2 separate regions of the Homo sapiens genome follow, and region 2 is linked to region 1. Evidence: promoter capture Hi-C in human tissues and cell types (Jung and others, 2019). All regions are on one chromosome and are shown on one strand. The core of a region is centred on a gene start or on the middle of the fragment in contact, and the rest is flanking DNA. Distances in the headings are between cores, read along the strand shown. Region 1 holds the start of DNAJB8 (DnaJ heat shock protein family (Hsp40) member B8). Region 2 has its middle 36 kb from the start of DNAJB8-AS1.

What was found. The method cuts DNA at HindIII sites, captures the fragments that hold promoters and counts their contacts. A contact is called where the count stands out against the background at its distance.
Region 2: a contact is called between a fragment that was not itself captured here and the fragment with the promoter of DNAJB8 in region 1, in 1 of the 25 tissues and cell types used here (IMR-90 fibroblasts).

Annotation. Positions count from the first base shown.
Region 1 is chr3:128,464,875-128,469,462 of GRCh38, reverse strand. It overlaps DNAJB8 (DnaJ heat shock protein family (Hsp40) member B8), which reads left to right and starts at 2,573. Exons shown (of 3, transcript NM_153330.6): 1 at 2,573-2,849; 2 at 4,027-4,187. The region is part of intron 2 of DNAJB8-AS1 (DNAJB8 antisense RNA 1); the gene reads right to left. The HindIII fragment of the contact is 25,608 bases long and covers 1-4,588 here.
Region 2 is chr3:128,424,841-128,429,428 of GRCh38, reverse strand. It overlaps a transcript of EEFSEC not described here. Among named protein-coding and RNA genes, the nearest start is that of DNAJB8-AS1, 36 kb to the left of the region's middle. RefSeq lists enhancers at 1,383-1,941, 3,020-3,219, silencers at 2,630-2,679, 2,710-3,019 and a cis regulatory region at 2,467-3,147. The HindIII fragment of the contact is 9,653 bases long and covers 1-4,588 here.

The DNA.
Region 1 (4,588 bases), core at 1,324-3,823:
CCCCGCAAATGATGCCTTCACTCAGGCAGTAAACCCCTACTTGGGGCTAGATCTGAGCCTCCAGAGACCACATGAGCCACCACCAGGAAGGATGTACCTGGGTTGGGATGGCAGGGAAGGGATCTGGGCAACCCAGTGGGCACCTGTCATCACTGGCTTGGAGGACTGGGCAGGAAGGCTGCCTGAAGAGGTCTGAGAGCAGAGCTGAGATCGCCCTGGCACCACTGGGGAGGACGTGAGCTCACTGGCCCTTCTACGGTTGCGTAGCCCACCGCCTTCCCACCCCATGGGCCACCAATCTGCATGTAAGCCTGCCATGGGCCTGTCTGCCTACCATGGCTTCCACTGGCTCACCAGGCAGGCTGCCCTTTCATCTGTCTCTGCCCACCCATTATCGACACTGCCAGGATGCCAGCACACGCACACACAGCTCCTTCTCCATTCTGAGCTCCTCACAGTAACCCTGTGAGAGGGGACCATCATTACTTCCCTTTTACAGATGAGATGAGGACACTGGGGCACAGCCAGGTTATTGACTTCCCCAAGGACACATGGCTGGGGAGTGGCAGTGCTGGGGTTGGAACCCAGGCTGTGTCACCTGACAGGCTGAGCTCTTCCCCACTGTGGGATCTGCCCCTTGGCCCGTCTGTCTGTCCATCCGCCCATCCACTCTGTGACTGCCCACCGTTCAGCCCCTTCATTCGCCTGCCACTCTGTCCATCCAGCCGCCCGTCCATCCATCCATCGCTGTCGCCCATCCATCCTGGAGCTAATGCAGTTAGAGGACCAGGGGCCCTGAGGGGAGAGAAGGCCCCAAACTGCCCATCTGGCCGGGCCAGGGTGGCCGGGGGTGGGGTGGGCTGCCCAGGCCAGGCAGGCCTGCAGGGGGCTGGAGGGAATTAGCTGAGTGACTGCCAGGATCATCTAATTAGGAACTCTAGTGATAAGCAGATAGGATCGGGGGTGATTAGAATCCTTTTAAAAAGCCACTCCATTAATTACAGAGACAGAGAGGGGCCTCTGGCTGCTCCGAATACCAATTGGCTGCTTAATCGGCTCCATCAGCTCGCCCGGGGGAGACCTTCCTGGTACTGCTGTGTGACCTTCGGTGTGCCCTGCCCTCTCTGGGCCTCGCTTGGTCGCTGAAGGTCCTTCTCTCCCTGGCCATGGCTCGGGGTTGGCTTTAGGGTGGGCCTGAGATGAGGGACATGGGACATCTGAGGCCAGGAAGCCTAGGCTGGCTCCCCAGAGAGGGCAAATCCCCAAAAGCACCCACTGGTGAATGAGGACAGAGAGGCTTGAAGAGGGGAGGTGGCCTGACAGAATTGACGGTGGAGCGTGTGGGGCCTAAGTGTGCGCTCATGCCTGTGTGTCCCTGTCCCTCCAGCAGGCCCTATGGAGGCCTCAGAGCCCCTGATGCTCCCCACTGGCTCCCCAAAAACTGGCGTGGAAGGAGACTAGCCTGAACCCTTTGCAGAAGGGAAACTCCTCTGCACACTGCCCGGCTCCACGGTCCACAGCTCCCTTCATGGGGAGCTCCCCACAGGGGCCTCCATCTCAGGATGCCCTTGATGGTGAGGTGTGGGACCTGCTCCCAGGTGACACACCTGTTCCCGTAAGTCCTACCGAGTGGTCTGTTCTGTGTGCCCTAAGACAGCCCTGAATGGGCGGCAGTGAGGGGGTCTCCAGCCCTGTCTCCATCCTGGCTGACTCCCACAGACCCATCCCAGGAACAAGGGTTGGAGCAGGGCAGTGGCTGGAAGAAATTTCCCCTGGGAGTACAACGCAGACCAGAGCCAGGGTCTCCAACAAGGCAGGGAGGGCCAGGACGGGGAGGCGGCCACAGGATTCTTGGATGCCTCATCATACTAGGTCCTTTGTCTCTTAACATTGTTTTCACCACCCCTCCTCCACTGTCCTGATTCCATCGTCATGGAAACTTCAGGCTTCACCTTTACAATGTCAGGCCACCAACACCCTCAGCAGTGTCACCATCACCATCAACACCCCAGCGTCCCATCCCCATCTCCTCTACCACTGCCACCAGCCCCACTATCACTATCATCTCTGTCACCGTCACCACGGTGCTCTCCACCCGTGTCAGCATTGTGTCACCACCACATCACTGTCACCACACTTCCTCCACCTCCATCTCCACCCACCATCCCATCTGTGACATCACCTTATCAGCTCTGCCACCAGTATCAACCACTCACACCGCCTTTGCCATCACCACCGTCATTGCCCCCTCTACTACCACCACCATCACCACCACCGGGTCTGCCTCAGCCAGACCCACCACTGCCTCTAATTAGACTGCCACCATCATCACTGCCACCACCACTGCCCCTCCAATGCCTTCCTGATGTCACCATCTGCTTTCTCTCTGCTATCCTCACACCCAACTCCATCACAACCACCACCTTCATCTGAGCCGCCATCACCCTCACAGTACACAGCCCTCAAATGTGTACCAAGGAGGAGGACATTTACTACACGCTGCACCCTGAACAGTCTGGGACCAGCGGTCAGGGAACAAGGAATCGAGATGCTCACCTGCAGCTCCCAGGTGAGCGGCTCTCTAGAGCTTGCCTGGGAGCTGCTGAGGAGCTCACGGTATTCCAGGAAGCTCCCCATCCATGCCTCAGCCTGTGGCTCAGAAGCAGGGTCTTCGCAGAAGATTGCCCCGAGCTGTTGCAAAGCTCACCATTGTCACCTGCCTGCAACGGCCTCTCTTTTCCACTCTCCAAATCCCTTGTATTGGCAGGCTCTAGTCTGGAATTATACCGGTGATGGGATTCTGGAAAATCCCTCAGATTTCTCCAGGATGCAAGGAGACCATGGAAGAGGTTGGTGTAATGCCAAGTTAGCAACAGAAAATACAGAGCCCCACACCTCAGTGCCATCACCATCGCCATCGGCACTCACACCAGCATGTCCACCACTGTGTCCTTCTCACCCCTCGGCACCCCCCTCTACCATTGCCTCTTCCACAACCACCCTCACCACCATCCTCCATTAATAGCACAATTCCTGCCTCCTATCCCATCACCACCACGGGTGTCCCCGGCACCAGCAGCACCAACACTGCTCCCAGCAGAGCCATCGTTACCAGCCCCGCTGTCAGTCCCATCTTGAGCATCTGGCATATGTTGGAGAACTGCTCACTCCCTCTTCCCCATGGGAATCTCAGGCCTCTCTTCCTATTGCCCTGAGATTTGCAGAACCTTCCTGAAGGAAACATTCTTTGCCCCATGGATACTGGCCTTGACCATGGGATGCAGCAAGACTGCCACACATCATGGCCCAACAGAAGCTTTCAGAGGCAGCCCAAGTTCCTGCTGTCTCTGAGTGGCACTGTCATGAGAGAGGGGTGTGCAGGTCAGAGCTGATTCTCCAGCCTGGGACCCACAGTGAGAAGCTATGGGAGGTGGGGCCCTGGCAGCTGCCTGTAGGCACCAGTGAGTGAAGTGGGGGGAACTAGATGTTTGTCGTGAGCCACTGAGAGGTGGAAGCTGTCACTGTGGTATAGCCGAACAAGATACAACCTCTGCTACCTCCACCACCTTCACCTTCATCATCACCATTACTGTCACCACTGCCAACCACACCAATGGCTCACTAGGAGCCATTCCCATCACCTCCTCATCATACCTGCACCATCACTGCCAACCACAACAAAGGCTCGCTGTTACCATCTCCTCTGGCATGACCATCACCACCACCACTACCATCATCAATTACTCTCAAGCACAAGCCTTGCTGCTGTCACCACCAGCATCACCATCATCATGATCAACTCCACCATCACCCATAATTACTCTCCCCCTCACACCCACCATGACCATTACCTCCACATCAACACTGCTCCCATGGTCACCTCTACTATATAATGACACCTTATCCATCTCCATGGACACCCACCGTGCCTCTCCCCACCAGCAACACAGTCAACAGCAGTGCCTCTCCCACTGCCACCGCCATCATGGAGAACTGTGCAGGGCAAGCATCTTTCTCCCGCCCCAGGAACAAGCCTGCAAGGGACAGCAGGTGCTAACTGCTAACCGAGACATAGTGACAAAAATCCAGCCACAGAGATAAAGAATCAGGTTCATCTGTAGCTACATCCAGTGGAGAAGTTCTGCTCTTCAACTCCTCTGCTAAGCCACATGTGTCAGCAGGTGTAGGTGGGTGGATGCCCAGCATGGGGGTGCGAGTCGTGCTTTTGATAAGCTGCATGGAGGGACAGCGATGGTCACTGGAGGCTGGGTTTACAAAGTGTCTCTACAGTCTGTCTCCATTCCTCCTGGCATTTGGGATTGGTTAGAACACACACTGTCCCCTGCTAGGAGCCTGAAACCTAGCACCCATGAGCACTGAAAGAAAAGAGAGAGAGGGAGGATAATAGAAAGGGATGAAGACTAGAAAAAGGAAGAGGAGGAAGAAGGGAGGAATGAAGGAAGGAAGGAGGAAGGAAAGAAGCCAGGAGTGAAGAAGGGAGGGAAGGGAGAAGGGGGAAGGGGAGGGAGGAAGGAAAGAAAGAAGGAAGGAAGGAGAAAGGGAGGAAGGAAGGAAGGAAGGAAGGAGG
Region 2 (4,588 bases), core at 1,406-3,905, 40 kb after region 1:
TGGGGGCAGGAGGCTGCCTTGCTTATTGCAGCCCTGGGAGCCCCTCTTCTGACGATGTGTCAGATACAGCGTCCTGCGTGTGGCCTCCCCGCTCACCCTGCCTCCACCGCGTGCCCTCACTGTCTGCCCAGCCTCCTCCCAGTAGCACTATGTTCTGCACCCATCTGGCTGTGAGATGAGGGCAGGGACCCCTTCACCACCCATATCACGAGGACACAGGGCCCAATATGTTCATCCAGCACAGACCCAGTTCCCTGGGGTTTGTCGATGGAACGAGTCAGCTGGAGGTGGTGGCTGCTTCCACCCCTGGCCAGGTCGGCCTCACTGCTGGCCCCTGTCGCTGGGGGAATCGACAGCTCCCTCCCCCAGCTTTCCAAGGACCTCAGCGGGAAGCACAGACCCTCCCAGGGACCTCCACTTTTCCCTGCCAAGACTCCAGGCTCTGTGGTGGGTCTGGCTTGTACCCCCTCCCACACAGTTCCCCAAGGCCTCAGGCCCCCCAAGTGGAGAGACACCTGGCAACCTGGACCTGTTGGAGAAAACTAAGCCTCCGTAGGGACTCAGTTTCCCTGCTGGACTGGCTGGGGCTGCTTGCCTGGGGAAGCTTCCCTTGGTCTATCTCGGGTTCAGAAGAGGGCTTGGCTTGCCAGGGCAGGGGCAAGGCAGAAGCCCCCAGGACCCCTGCCTGCTCCTCAGGTCCAGGAGGAAACCTGCGAGTGAAAGCAGACTTAGTGGGGAAACACACCCAGCCCCAGGAGGCTGCCCACCTGGCGGGCCTCGGGGTCCTGAGCCTGCGACAGAGGTGCAGAGACAGAACCAACAGGTTAGGACAGGGAGAGAGAGAAGCAACAGACACACACATCACACACTCTGGGGCAGGGGTCATGCACCGGGGCCAGGCAGCTCCCCAGGTTTCTTGGATCTGGACTTAGAATGCCAATTGTTAATGCCAAGCCCAGAATGGCTCTGGTTGTCAATTCCCAAATGGTGTATATGTGACTGTGACTTTGTGTGTGTGCACATGCATGCGTGAAGGTACGTGAGGCTCATGGGTCTGGTGGGCATGTTTGCAGAGCCTGGCCGGTGTGTGTTATGGACGAGGGACGGAGATTGCCACCTGCCTCTAGCGTGTGTCTGTATGCATGGGAGGCAGCCTGCTGGCCTCTGTGACCGTGCCCCAGTGTCCCTGGGCAAAAGTGTGTGTGATGTGTGGCCTCCCTCAGTGGCACTGCCAGAGCCAGGCTGGGAGCTTCAGTGGAGGACCTGCCCTCAGGGCCCCTAAGTACCCCTGACCCTGGCCCTGGCCTCAGACCTGGACCCCGAGCAGGAGCCCTGGCTGGCCCACATGGGGGCTTTTGTCCATTTCTGAAGTGACAAGAGACACACAAAAGGGCTTTTAATTAAATCAAAGAAGGGGGAAACGGGCCAGCCGGGCCGCTATTATGTTACCAAACGCGAAAATGAAAACTTATTTTTAAAGCTCTGGTATTAATTTGAGATTATTCAGATAGTTAATTAAAAGTGCAGCATGTGTTAAATATTATTTCAACAAAGATTATCATCAGGCCTCCATGTAATGTGATCCTTGGGCTTGGGAGCTTTATGCAAATGGCTGCAGCCAGGAGGAAGGGCCCTCAACAGAAGGGTGGCAGGCAGGCGCAGGGAGGGCAGGAGCTCCGCGTAGGCCCACTCACTCCCCTCGGGTCTGGCTCCCCCAGACACAGATGGAGTCTCAGCCAGGGCCCCCTTTCCAAGCCCTAGGTGAGTAGGGGCCTGACTGTCTGGCGGGTCTCGAGCCCACCAGCCAGTCAGCAGCAGGGCCCCATACAGTCTTCTGGATGGCACTGTGGGCCATGAGGGAGGCTGGCCACACTGCCTGCCTCGAAGACCAGCACACCTGTAGGTGTGTGTGCATGGGCGTGAGCAGGGGGTCTGGGAACAGCAGTGTGGATGTGTGTGCTCCTGACGCTGTCACAAGACTGGGTGTGCACAGGTGACGCTTGTGTATGAGCTGGGAGGCTGGCAGCGTGTTTGTGTTCAGGGTCTCTCCATCTTACCCGTGGACTCTGGCACTGACAGTCTGGGCCCCTGCATGTGTTATGAATATTTGTGTGTGGTACACATGGGCATGGGGTGGGCACTGCTGGGTGTGTGCCCATAACCCACCCTGAGCAAGTCACATCACTGCTCAGCGCCTCAGCTTCCCCGTTTGTAGAATGGGATAGGTAATAACAGTAAACGCCTCACTGGGAGAGTTGGACGGGATTACATGGGATAACACAGACATCCAACTTAGGCCTGTCCTGTAGAGACAGAACACAAGCGGCAGGTGAGAGCCATCTACCTAATTTTATATCTTAGCCACAATTTTAAAAAGAAAAAATGAAATTAATTTTCATATTTTATTTAACCCAGTAGATCCAAAATATTACTATTTCAGCTCAATACAAAAGGTGATAAGTGTGATTGTTTAGTCTCTCTTTGTCACAGAAGGCCTTTGGAAGCTGGGGTGTACTGGGCCCTGGGTATATCTCATCTTGGACGGCCACATCACCGGTGCTCAGAGCCACGTGGGGACGTGGCGGCCTTTGAGCCTAAGGCCCTGCCCCCCAGGCCGGCTCTTCGCAGACCCGGGGCCAGCGCTCTCCCGGAGAGACTCCCGGGGCACCTCGCTGGATGGCGGGGACTGGCGGGGTAGGGGTGGGGTAGCCCGGAGACGGGTGGGCCCAGGATCCCTCGCTAACCTCCTCCCCCACACCGTGCACTGGGTCCGTGTCCCTAGGTCGTGCGTCCCAGACAGTCCGACAGGTGTTTGCCGCAGTCCTGAGACCACATTCGGGCTCCCGCCCGCGCTGCGCCTCGCCGGGGCCGCCCCTGCCAGCCCTGCCGTGCGCTCTCGGCCGCTGGGCGCGGGCCGCTCCTGCCCTCTGTCGGCGCCTGGCGGCAGCGCAGTCCCGCGGCGGGCCGAGGAGGGGGCCTGGCTGGCTACGGCCCTTCGGGGCGGAATGGGTGCGTGCCCACCCCACCGTGCAAGGGCCCCACCGTTCCAGGACATTTTCACACCTCATCCCACAGGATGCTTACGGCGGGCTGCGAGGCCAGCAGCGCCAGCCCGGTTTTACAGACGGGAAAGCGGAAGCTCAGAGAGGACCTGTGACCTGCCCAGGGCCACACAGCAGGACTGCAGGCAGGGATTCGAGCTGAGGTGGGAATCCAGGTGTTCAGCGCACTTCCATGAGTCCCGCCGGGTTCAAGTGCTGGCTCTGCCCCGCGTGGCCTGTGCAGCGAGACAGGTGACAACCTCTCTGAACCTGAGTGGCTCTGCTGTAAGCTGGGGGCGACAGTAGCCCCTCCTGCGTAGGACTGCTGTGAGGATTGAACAGGGGATGACTGTAAGGTTTCTAGCAGGTCCCTGGAACTCAGCATTCATCCAAAAAGTCGCTGAGTCACAGCATAATAACACGATTCACCTACCTCGGGGCCTTGGCACCTGCTGGGCCCCCGCCTGGAAACCCTTCCCCCGGATCTTGGATGGGATGGCCCCTCTGCCTTAATCTCGGTTCAAACTCACCTCAGCAAGGCCCGCCCCAGTCACCCTGTTAGCATTGCCCTAATTCATGCCCTTGGAGCCCTTGCCAACAGCCAGATGGTCCCGCGTGTCCCCAGGCTGCCTGGTTTCTTGCCTGCTGCCCACAGGACAGGAGGGCCCAGGAGGGCCCAGGAGGGCAGAGCTCGTTCATCCTGGCCATTTCCGTCACTGGGAGCACCGCGCCTGGCCTGGGTGGGTGCCCGATGGGAATGTGTTGAGTGAAAGGTAAAATGCCCAGTCAGGCGGGAATGCAGACAGCAGCTGGGGTGGGAAACCGCGTGGCAGTAAAACACACGCCACACAACACAGACCTTCCACGGTGAGGTGTTTACTTATGGGAGAGAAGCACCGATGCTCACACAAAACCCCACAAGAGTGTTCGGAGCAGCTTTAGTCACAGTCACCCCAAACTGGAAGCAGCCCGAGTGTCCTTCCGCAGGTGAATCCATCCGCTCGTCCACAGCCACACCTCGGGGCCCTGCTCAGTGACCCAAGGAGCTGCTGGGACGTGCAGCCACAAGCATGAATCCCAAGGCCAGGAAGCCTTGCTGGAAAGTCCACACACAGTGTGATCCCACTCATGTGACATTCTAGAAAGTGTAAAACAACAGTGATGGAAAAGAGATGAGTGAATGCTGGGGCCGGGTGTGCGAGGGGTGCTTTCACAGGGGCATGAAGCATGGGGGTGCACCTGTTCTCTCTTTTGACTCAGGTAGGGGTTACACAACTGAATGTGTTTTTCAAAACGCACAGAGCTACATGTTTAAAGGGGTGATTTTTACTGTATGTGACAAACAACAATTTTAAAAACCAGTCACAGAGTCGCAGACTCTCAGAATCATGGAGTTGACCAGTCCTACCTGCTTGGTGAGAGGCCCTGACCACCCCGCCACTGCCTCCCTGAGAAAGACCACTTCCGCCGCAGTCTCCACCTTAGACTGAACGAGCTTTAGAACTGGCCCACAGAAGATGAGAGGAGTGGGGGAGGAGATTGGGGTG